3 separate regions of the Homo sapiens genome follow, and all the other regions are linked to region 1. The links are contacts of gene promoters, found by promoter capture Hi-C in human tissues and cell types (Jung and others, 2019). All regions are on one chromosome and are shown on one strand. The core of a region is centred on a gene start or on the middle of the fragment in contact, and the rest is flanking DNA. Distances in the headings are between cores, read along the strand shown.

What was found. Contacts are between HindIII fragments. The study calls those that stand out against the background at their distance.
Region 2: a fragment that was not itself captured here is called in contact with the fragment with the promoter of POU4F1 in region 1 in 1 of the 25 tissues and cell types used here (lymphoblastoid cells).
Region 3: a fragment that was not itself captured here is called in contact with the fragment with the promoter of POU4F1 in region 1 in 2 of the 25 tissues and cell types used here (lymphoblastoid cells and pancreas).

What each region holds. Positions count from the first base shown.
Region 1 is chr13:78,602,231-78,606,023 of GRCh38, reverse strand. POU4F1 (POU class 4 homeobox 1) reads left to right here and starts at 2,472. Exons shown (of 2, transcript NM_006237.4): 1 at 2,472-2,820; 2 at 3,473-3,793. The coding sequence starts at 2,698. OBI1-AS1 (OBI1 antisense RNA 1) reads right to left here. Exons shown (of 6, transcript NR_047001.1): 4 at 580-723. RefSeq lists a silencer at 2,522-2,681. The HindIII fragment of the contact is 11,230 bases long and covers 1-3,793 here.
Region 2 is chr13:78,740,493-78,744,285 of GRCh38, reverse strand. No RefSeq gene overlaps it. Among named protein-coding and RNA genes, the nearest start is that of OBI1, 83 kb to the right of the region's middle. The HindIII fragment of the contact is 3,947 bases long and covers 1-3,561 here.
Region 3 is chr13:78,473,685-78,477,477 of GRCh38, reverse strand. All of the region lies in intron 3 of OBI1-AS1 (OBI1 antisense RNA 1), which reads right to left. Among named protein-coding and RNA genes, the nearest start is that of POU4F1, 130 kb to the left of the region's middle. The HindIII fragment of the contact is 3,683 bases long and covers 234-3,793 here.

The sequences.
Region 1 (3,793 bases), core at 1,223-3,722:
ACTTTTCCTGTGACAAACTCTGCACTAAGTGCTATAGTGAAGATGGATGTATCCTAGATGGGCTTCCTATCCATGGTGGGAGGGGGAGGGAGGATTGTACCCATAGCCCTCATGTTTCTGGTCCCATCAAAACACCCAATACCCCAAGCAAAGATCTGGCCTCACCCCAAGGTGGGGTATTCCTGTTGTCGAAAGAGAGGTGAACAGGGAAGGAAATCTTGGTGGGACTAACTCCTAACTTCAGGCTAAGGTGGCATCTCTCCGCTGGGTTTAATGGAAGCCTCCCAGGGTTGGAGGGTGAACCGAGGTGCCTTTTGGGTACTCAGGAGCTCACCTGGCTCTCAGAGGCCCCACCCGGCCGCAAACCTGTACTGTTTACCTTTCTGTTGCTCCTGTACCCTTCAGGGTCCCTAAAGACCAGCGCTTCCTTGAGAGGGGAGGGGCAGGTTCCAGGCCCTCACCCTCTGTGGGGGCCTTTTCTTTCCCGTCAAGAGAGAGCGCAGGGAACGGCCACCAGGGGTGTCAGGAAGGACTAGGTTAAGCCCGGACTCCCGGTGTGATGACTACCGTAGGACTCACTCTTTCCCTCTAGCGACGTCCTGCTCATCGTCCACTCCCCGTTGAGATAAAGTTGCATTTAGCGCTCCCAGGGGACTGCGTAATGGATGGAACCAGCTCCTTCTCTCACCAGCAAGTGAACATCCTTCTCACTTCCCTCTGGAGCTAGAAGGAAGGGAGGGGGTGGGGGGGAACATGAAAAGAAAGAAAGAAAAAGCCATGGTGACGCCTGTGGGCTCTTCTTGGAATCTGAGTAGGTGAGTGGGTATGCTAAACACACATGCATTTGTGCAGAGGAAAGATAAAATCCACGGGAACGCAAATTTAGGTTTATAGAAATGAGATCTGCTCTTTGGTGGAAATACAGACTTCCTTGGTGTGGGAGAGAACAGAAAGATTATCTGATTTCTGCTTTCCATAAGCAGCCCCTTGCTGCTCTCCAGCTCTCTTACCGCAGATGTGATAACATCTGGGCTGTTAGGTTATTATCACCGCGAGCAAGTGCTCCTTCCCTGGGGACTTTGGCACCTGAACTGTGGCTCCCCTGGGAGGCTCTTGATCTGCTACCACATAAGGGCCATATAACAGGTTGGCTAATTGATTTATTCTTTTTAGGTCTTAATTTCACAATAATTTTTTAAAAATTTAAAAACTGGACCAGAGCTTGTCCCCGTTCTTTCAAATTGGCTTGATTTAATATTTTTGAATCAAGCTTTCCTGTAAGTTAGTTTGATCTGTCTCCTATTGAAAAAAATATATATAAGCAGGCAGAGATATGAGGCAAAAAGCCAAAAAGATGGAAGGGAAAAGAAAGTTCTCTTTTCAACATCTTATTCCCTTTTCTCTGAAGCAGTTTTCCTGGAGTTCCCAGCATAAAGTGTGTGTGTGTGTGTGTGTGTGTGTGTGTGTGTGTGTACGCTGAGGGGAGGAAGGATCCCAACTACACCCTGTTAACTGTTTTTTCCTTTTGATTACTAGAAGCCTTAGATCACCCGGAGCTCGTTTGAAACGTGGGTTTGTACACGGTTGAAGGAGACAAACAATAAGAGAAATGCACAATTTCATTTCAACAGCTTTTCCCGAGTAGAAAGCACACGCTCCTTGTGGCTCCTAAGTGGCTGTCACTGGCGGTGCCTGACACAGTTATATTCACAACAACAACAAAAAAGTATGCGGAGGAAATTAAATTATATGGAAATCAATAGCGTCTGACTGCTTCAAACAAATGTCTGTCACCGCGATTATTCTCCAGGAACCTATTTATAAACCTTTAAAGAAACAGGTTCTTGCAGCAAAAGACAGCACCTTCTGCATTTCTGTGTTGTTATTTATACTGTATACAGAGGAATGCGCGGGCATAATTTAACGTAGAAATGTCCAGCTGTATACATTATACAACAGCTTGTTAGGCATCCCGAAGAGGAGGAATGCCTAAGTAATGCTCATATATTCAAGGCTTGCTATCAGGGAGAAGAAACATACACACATACACACACACGCACGCACACACACACACACACACACACATAGAGGGGCGTGCGCGCATCTCGTCTTTTTTATTCTAAAAGGTGCCCACCCTTAGACAATAGCTGGACCTTCTGATCTTTCCAGACCACGGTGGGAAAGGTGAGGCGGGCAGTGCGCATGCCCGGGTAGCTACAGGTGCATCACCTGCGCTGTCCTTGCTGGTGGTCACTATAAGAGCGGCTCCCACGCGCTGGTCGCGGCCGGACGAGCGCGCGCGCGCGCAGACGCACGGGGCCGCCGAGAAGGAGAGCGCGCGTCAGACAGACGGAGACAGCTGATGCCTGTCAGCGCGGTGGGGCCGCGAGCTCTCGCGAGAGCTCCCCGGGACGGCCGCGAGAAGTGGGGCTCAGGTGTTAGAGGAGTGCATCCCGTCGGCGCGCGGGGCTAGAGCTGTCGGAGAAGCGGGACCGCGAGGCCGGCGCGCGGCGCTCTGCGCGGTCAGAGGGAGCGCCTGGCAGCAGCAGGAGCAGCAGCAGCAGCCCGCGGCGGGGCCGCCGCCAGCCGCCGCGACCGCCGCGGCTGCAGCCTCCGAAGGGAGGCCGGGTGAGCCGGCGTACGCACTTTCCCGCGGACTTTCGGAGTGTTTGTGGATATACATGCCAAGCCGCCACGATGATGTCCATGAACAGCAAGCAGCCTCACTTTGCCATGCATCCCACCCTCCCTGAGCACAAGTACCCGTCGCTGCACTCCAGCTCCGAGGCCATCCGGCGGGCCTGCCTGCCCACGCCGCCGGTAAGCGCCCCACGCCCGCGGCCCCGGCCCGCGCGCCCGCCCCTCCCCGTCTCCGAAACGCTGCATGTCGGGGGCTGGTGTGTGCAGGTCCCGGTGCGGGGAACTGCGGGCAGGGGGTGTAGAGCAGTCCCGCAGCGAGGCACGTTTTGTCCGGCGGCCCTTAATGTCGTGTTCCTGTCTGCCTCTGCCTCCGCGTCAGGCGCCTGCGATCGGAGTAGGGAGCGCTGGGGCCAGGACTCTCGACTTCCCTCTACTTTCTCTGTTAATTTCACGCCTCAGAAAGGCAGTCTCTGTGCGTGCTCGGGTGTGTGACACGGGTCCCCAGCTGCGAGTTACATTTCCATTTCTTCTTTTCCCTCTTTTTCGTCTCCCACGCCCGTTTCCGGAATGTGTTCTTGTGTCCCCCTTTCTCCCTACTTCTGTCCCCCTCTCCACGCTCCCATCCCTTCTCGTCTGCCCCCTCCCTGGTCGTCAATGTGCCCCCTCTCCGTCTTTCCCGCTCTCCACTGCCCCCAAACCCGTTGTTATTTTGGTTGCTTTGTGTTTGCCCTTCGCATGCTGTGCTTTCCGGCCTGTGTGTGTGTTTCTTCTGTTGTTTTGTTTTGCTCTTTTGGTTTTGTGGTTTTTTTGGTTTGGTTTGTGTCGCCTGCAGCTGCAGAGCAACCTCTTCGCCAGCCTGGACGAGACGCTGCTGGCGCGGGCCGAGGCGCTGGCGGCCGTGGACATCGCCGTGTCCCAGGGCAAGAGCCATCCTTTCAAGCCGGACGCCACGTACCACACGATGAACAGCGTGCCGTGCACGTCCACTTCCACGGTGCCTCTGGCGCACCACCACCACCACCACCACCACCACCAGGCGCTCGAACCCGGCGATCTGCTGGACCACATCTCCTCGCCGTCGCTCGCGCTCATGGCCGGCGCGGGCGGCGCGGGCGCGGCGGCCGGCGGCGGCGGCGCCCACGACGGCCCGGGG
Region 2 (3,793 bases), core at 339-2,838, 140 kb before region 1:
TTTCTAAAGTTCCCCCTTGCTCCCCCTTATGCTGTTACTAGTAGCTTGGGCTTTTGGCTGTCGTTGATGGAGAGGTGGGGATGCCTCATTTCTAAGTGCTCCTGGAAAGTGCTGACTTGGCAATCCTGGACACAGAGGGTTTTAAATATCCCCAGAAGAGGCAGAACCTATTCAATGGCAGCAGGAGTTTTCCACAAAGGCTTGCCAATAGACTTCCAGCTTGATTTGTAAAGCTTACTTTTTTACTTTTAGTTGTAGGGCCGGGAGAGGTGATTTGAATTGGAAGATGTGATAGTACAACTAGGTGAATCCAAATTAATTTCTCATGAACCAAAGAAAACCCAGAAATGATTATCTTGATTGCCTGATGCCTCATTTAGCTTCTCTTAACAACTCTCTGCTGACTGCTCCTAAACAGTCATGGGATTTTTGAAAATACCATCAGGTTAAGGCTTGATGTTTTTAACATCTTCAATTAGACCTAAAATGTATGAATGTGAATTGTGGACATGCCTTTAGTAAGAAGCCAAAAAATAATTTAAAGGGAAAAAAAATCCTCTAAAACCTACCCCTCCCTTCTCACCTCCCACATTCATGAGGGAGGACAGGGGAGAGCTAGCTACTGAAGACTGTCCATGGTTAATTACAAAAAAAAAATCTTTGAGACAAAGAAGAATTAAACATGATAGGAAATGCATCTAGTCATATTGAATTGCCTTGAAACTGCCTTCTAGAAAATTCTGATTCTTCAGTTTTATTCCAATCTCTCCACAACTTGAAACGAGCTTCTTGCTAGGAATAGTAGTATTACATTAAAAATATAAACAATTATTAGAAATATATAGTCTTAGAAACCATTAAATTTGTTCCTTAAGCAGGTTTATTACTTTTCTGCATACTTGCATGAAAATTTGTCTTCTACCAATTTGACATAAAATAGCCAGGATCAGATTTATTCATCTTATCAATACCATTATTTTGTACTGTCAGGTATTTAGAATATTATCTGGGTTGCAGGTATAGTTTTTCAAAAAGCTGACTTTCCCTTCCCCCATCAACCAACACACCAATGTTGAGCAATTATTTCATTGGTTGAAAAATAAGCTTAGTCTTATATCAAAGGCTCTGCTGCACCTGTAGTGATTTAGAATTCAAATGTGGCTAATTTATAAAACAACCACATTTCACTGTTCACAGCAGGAATCAGGGACTTAATACAAACTCCACTCAGAACACCATCTCTTTGCTTAGGCCTTTTGCCTTCAGAAACATCTCTAGCTACTACTAATAAACATTTCCTTTCTTTCAGCCCCTAAAAGCTCAGTCACAGGGGCACAGTATCACGGTGTTTGGATTTTGTGTTGGAGAACCACAGACCCGGTCAGAACACAGCCGCCTGCATTTTGGTTGGCTGAGAGGGCTCTTAGTGACTGACGAGTGGTGCAGCTTATGAGCACTCCAGATTTTCCGCCCACTAATTCTACAAGGGTAGCAAACCAGGCCCAGGAGACACTGATTGGAAAGCAAAACTAGAAGAGAGAAAGAGTGTGTGCAGTATAATCTGGTGTAGGACACAAGTCTCATGAGTGAAAGATGAGTTTTATAATTGGTTCTAAACAAAATGAGAGGCACAGTGCTTGTTCAAAGAAGGAAAGAAAGAGGAAGCTGGGAGATTTCTAAAATAGTTTTATTTTAACAGAGAGTCACAGTCAGAAAGGTTGAAAGGTGGGAAAAGGAAAGGGCTTGGCAGGAAAATATGGTGGAGGATAGGAAGGTGTGAGTGGGTGATTTAGCCATGTAAATCTCATGGCTCTAGGGCTTTGAGCAAGTCGAATTGTCCAGCCCTGTGGATGCTAGCCTAGAAAACAGGGACCTTAAAGAGTTCACAAGGAGCAAGAAAGGAAATCTGTGACAGTGGTTGACAAACTAAAAACACACTTTTAGTCATCCTCATTGTCATCATTGCTCTCTTACCCTTTCTCTTTTTGTAATTTTACCTCTTTTTCTTGGTTATTTCTTTTCAATTAGGGTGGGATTTTTTTTATGCAGAATTCTATGTCAGCCCTGGAAATTGTTTCTTTCTTTCCTCAATTAGTACACGAGTTAGTCTTTTCTTGATCAATCCATCACCCACCTGGGGCCAGACACATGACCTCTTGTATCTGAAACAGTTCAGAAACACAATTTCATGTTATTAAATTTACTAGGAAGAAATTGCTTTCCATATTTATATTCACCTCTATACACAAGTCTGGAACCTAGCACTTCTCTAAAGAAGAAAGAGGAAGAGAAAGAGGATGATGAGGATGAGAAGAAGCAAAAGTAGAAGCCAATATTTGTGAGACTTCATGATGAGTGTTAATGTCATTTGGATAAATGGGCTGATAGCTCATAAAGAGTGATCTATGCAAAAGTACCTGGGTTCAGATTGGGCTTTCAGCCTCAAAAGGCACAGGAACCAAGGTAGAGGTGTACAGAAATCTTGGTGAGGAGTGCACAGTCTCCTGCAGATGCCAATATCAGAATCATTCTGCTCCAACCACTTTTTGTCATGTATCACTCTGTTCAAAAATAAAATAAAATCCCCAAAAAGATAAAGTATGGCCAGTTTGGACCATGGACTTGCACCTTGGCTAAGGGGCAGGAATGGAAGATGAGGCACAAGGGCACTACAAGTTCCATCAGGACGACCAAGATGCAGTGAGGGTGGGTTTTGATTTCATGTTGAAGAACAACAGACCTGGTCAGAACACAGCCACCTGCATTTTTGTTGGCTGAGAGGGCTCTTAGTGGCTGACAAGTGAAGCAGCTTATGAGCACTCCGGATTTTCCACCCAGTAAATCTATATGAATAGCAAACCAGGCCCAGGAGACACTGATTGGAAAGCAACAGTAGAAGAGAGAAAGAGTGTGTGCAGTAAAATCTGGTGTGGGACACTTGTCTCATGTCCTACACATAAGAAAATATGGTGCTGTTATCAAGAGAAAGAAGAAGAAAAGAGAGAGAGAGACACAGAGAATTGAGACAGTAGATACTGAGCCACCAAAATTCACAAATCTCTACCACATGAAAGACCTCCACTTCTGAACTCAACTTGTTGTTCTCTTTTATTAAAAAACAAAACAGATTCATTTTATTGTCCAGTTAACTCCGGTCTAGATCTAACATATCTAAAATGCAGTGGGACCTTTATCTACCTTGTCCTGGCTTATGCCTAAGATTACACAAGCTTTTGTCAGCCACTTTTCATTACATGTTCATAGGAGTGCAAAGTCAGAGGAAACCCCTAAGACTTTCGTAGGATTGGTGTTTAAGTCAGGTCTTACTAGCATCCTGATATGTGTGCAGCTGATTTTTTTTAACTTAAATGTAGAAATGTACATTTATACCTATTAAGTTACATCATTAGTTTCTAACAGAACTAACAGAACCTTTTCAAAATCTTCATCCTGTCATTTAAGAATTTGGCCACTCCTACAAGCATGGAGTGATTCTATGTAGATTTATAAGCTTCTGTATAGAGTGGTGGTTTAGAGAGGGCTGGGAAGGCAAAGAGCCTTTACTTGCATCCACACTTCTGCCATTACTGGCTGTGCAAACTTCGACAAGCTTCTTAGTCCTGTATCTCAGTTTTTGCATCTATAAATTAAGGATAATACTCTCTCTCGTAGAGTCCTTTTTTTGAGAAGATGAGAGAAGTTTATTCATGTAAAAAGCTAATGGCATTTAATAATTGTTAGTTAATATATCATCTATGTGTATCAAAGTCAGTGATGAAAACATATACAATGG
Region 3 (3,793 bases), core at 826-3,325, 130 kb after region 1:
ACCCATGTATGAGCCAATTGGAGGCACCTGAAATACATGGAGGTGAGGGGCTTTACAGAGGTCTTAATTATTGGAGGGGAAAAAGAGTGATATTTGTGCTATTATTACAAATAGACTCTACTTGCTACCAGTGTGACTCCTGAAGAAACTGGGCCACCCAGAAGCAGCACACAATAACGCTGCCATGCATCAATATTTTAGTTCCCCATCCCATTTCCATTCAGCCCACTTTTTAAGAGATAGAATAATGAGTGTTACGGAAAGAAAAATAGGTCACCAGTTTGATAAGGAAGTGGACGGATGGTGAAGTGTGGGGGCGGAAAAGAGCCAGCAGAATTAACAAAGGTAATTAAAGTAGCAGAAGCGAGAGAAGCTGGTTTTCACACTGCCAAATATATTTCAACTGAGCAAAAAGGAGAGTTATTCACATACATGTATTCACAGAAGGCAGAAACAGAGAACAAAAATAACCGTGAAAACCGACACTGGAAATTAAAGAGGAGGAAATAGAGTAGTTAATTCTTGTCTTCAGCCTAGTTTTTTTCCCCAAGCTGAAAAACGACTGTGAATTATATAAGCAAAGCTAGAATAAAATTACTGTGAAATAATGCTAACTTTTTAGCAGCCTCCTTTAAGTGCATCCTCCTTATTTGTCAATTCACCTGCCAAGCATACAAGAACATTCATTTTTTTTTTTCTCCTTGAACTACCCACAGATTGGGCAATCTTCATGCACTGAAAGCGTGTGTTTCTTCATGCATTGGTGCATGCTGAATAGGGCTGTCCTTTTTCCAAATTATCAGCTGCTTGCCTGGGCAATTTCCATGAGCAAATATGGGTATTTGCACACGCAAATGGAAGTGCGTGAAAATAATATGTGCTCGCTATTAGTGGGCCCAGCCAGGGTTTGCCTTTTTGGAGTTAAAAGCCCTGTAAAGGCCACATGGATTTCTGAGGAAGCTTCATTTAGCAAGCACAATTCATGAGCCAAGCCAAGGAGTTATAATTCCACTAGCTAAATATCCCTTTGTGAAGATAATAGATTTTTTTAAAGGACTTGGACTTGCAGAATGGTTTAAAAGGCGACATTTTACTAGGATATGGTATAAGCTAACTTTTGGCTCTGAAGTATTTACTAATATGTTATGGGTTTGAGATGTACGGTGCAACTTTCCATTTCCTCTTAAAGTGTCACTGGAAAGGTTATATAGTTATGAAAAACAAACGTGAGAGCTTAAACATTCAGGGTTATATTGCCAAATAATATCTGAAATGCAAAGGATTACAAAAATTAGCAAAGATTAGTAATTACACAGAGCCAAGCTTCCTCTCAGAGGACACATAATATTTTAATACTTTAGGAAATCTATTTACCATTTTACCAGTGCAGTATTCTAGTGCATATGTCTTATAGCTATGCTCACACACATATCCATATTTTGAGGAATGTATTAATTTCTTCTTGCCAGAAATCTTCTAGCCATGGCTTAAGAAGTGACTTCCAGTCTCTCTAATTGTTCTAGAATCTTTTAAAACCTCCCAGCTCACAGAGTCTGAAGTCTGAATCTTGCCTTTCATGACACAAGCACAAAATCCTAAAATGTATTTTTCAATTTGCATTTTCACAAAATAATTTTCTTAGTTAAGCTATTCTGAAGTATCATTTAGGAATTTCTGCTTTCTTATACATTGTTTATCTTTTCTCAACACTATTTTTTTAAATGAAAAAGAATACAAGGGGGAAAGGGAGATTTTATTGGACCTTCCAAATACAAAACAACTGATTAACAAGTGAAAAACTGAATCAATCAACTGGAATTGGTATATACTGAGTAATGAGTGAGTCAAATGATGTTTTCCCCATTATTTCTCATCAGTGATTTTCTTGAATTGAGGTGGCAGATTGAATTTTCCAAAGAGGGCTGCAATGCAACTTCGTATCCTACATGCTATTCTAGAACCTTGCCACAGTCCTTTCAGGAAAGAATGTCAAATTCTCTCCTCTGTGAACCTGGGCCACTTGTGAGTTGCTTATCGATGGGAGAATGCAGTGGAAGTAACGCGTGTGATTTCTGAGGCTGAGTTAGAAGAGACATTGCGGCGTTGCTTTGTTGGCCAGGACACTCAACTCCCGAAACCCTGACCCGCCATGTAGAAGTCTAATCATCCTAAGCTTCCATGCAATGAGGAAGCCCAGGGACAGGTAGAGGCCACTTGTAGGTGCTCCTGCCAACAGGCTGAGGTGCCAGGTGGCAGCCAGCATCCACCACCAGGCATGTGGCGAAGATGCCTCCAGATGACTTCAGCCCCCAGTTATTGATTCACCCCCAGCCTTTGAGTCTTCTAGCTGGGAACCCTGACATTACAGAGCAGAGACAAGCCATTCCCAGGAAGCCATGCCTGAATTACTGACTCACAGAACCTAATAGCTCAATATAATGTGTATGCTTGCTGCTAAGTTTTGGGTTACAGTTGCCCCTCCCTCTGTATCTATGGGCCACATCCCTGGTTTCAATAAACTGCAGATCAAACATTCAAAAAAAAAATTACAAAATTACAGTATAACAACTATTTATACAACATTTACATTGTATTAGCTATAGAGATAGAGATAATGCCAAGTATACAGGAGGGTGTGTGTAGGTTATAGGCAAAAACCGCACCATTTTATATAGCAGACTTGAATGTCTGCAGATTTTTGGTATCTGCAGGGGTTCCTGGAACCAGTCACCCACGGATATAGAGGAATGACTATAATTTATTATGTAGCACTAGTAACGAGAACTGTCAACAAATTACTTGAGACAAAATGTTCAAATCTAAACAGTCAGAAAGTATCATCTCATATTTCAGAGTCCATTTGGGATAAGATGTTGAGCTACTCATTTCCAAAATCCAGTGGCATTTGATAATTTTCCAGGGAGAAATTCCACAGGTTAATTATTTTTAGGTCAACAGTCTCTATTTTAAAATGTTGTAGCTTAAAAAAAGTATATACAAAAGTTTATTTTTTAAAAGATCTCATTAATAAATTGACAGACTAGGGGATTCATTGCACAGAGTGCCCTTGGAAAACACATAATTTGAGCTTGGCCAACAGGCAGGTTGCCAGTATATGCGGATGCAGGGGCGGCTGCTCCCATTCCATTTTCACTCTTCTTTTCCTTTCTCATCCCCTTTCTTTTCTCTCCTAGCTAGTGCCCACTTACAAAGTGGCTGTTGCATGTATGTGGTGTTCAGCCATGTGTGATAAGATGCAAAATGAGCCAGGAGCCTGTAATCCCAGCAGTTTGGGAGGCCGAGGTGGGTGGATCACCTGAGGTAGGGAGTTCGAGACCAGCCTGACCAACGTGGAGAAACCCTGTCTACTAAAAATACAAAAAAAATTAGCTGGGCATGGTGGCACATGTCTGTAATCCCAGCTACTCGGGAGGCTGAGGCAGGAGAATCACTTGAACCCAGGTGGCAGAGGTTGCGGTGAGCCGAGATAGAGCCGTTGCACTCCAGCCTGGACAACAAAAGCAAAACTCTGTCTCGAAAGAAAAAAAAATTGCAAAACAAAAGTAACTTATGTCTGGCCTCTCATCCTGTAATCCTACATGTACTGGATCATGGGAAAAGTTACTTATATGTGAAATAAACATGAACTTTTAATTTCACCTCATAAGTCATGATGAGAAAAAGCCAATAAATTCTTTTCACCAAATATTTTGAACCTGAGAGTGCCTAATGCTAATGATGAAAAGACAGATCCATGGCTAGAGAAGTGCAACAGAAAAGCACAGTAATAACT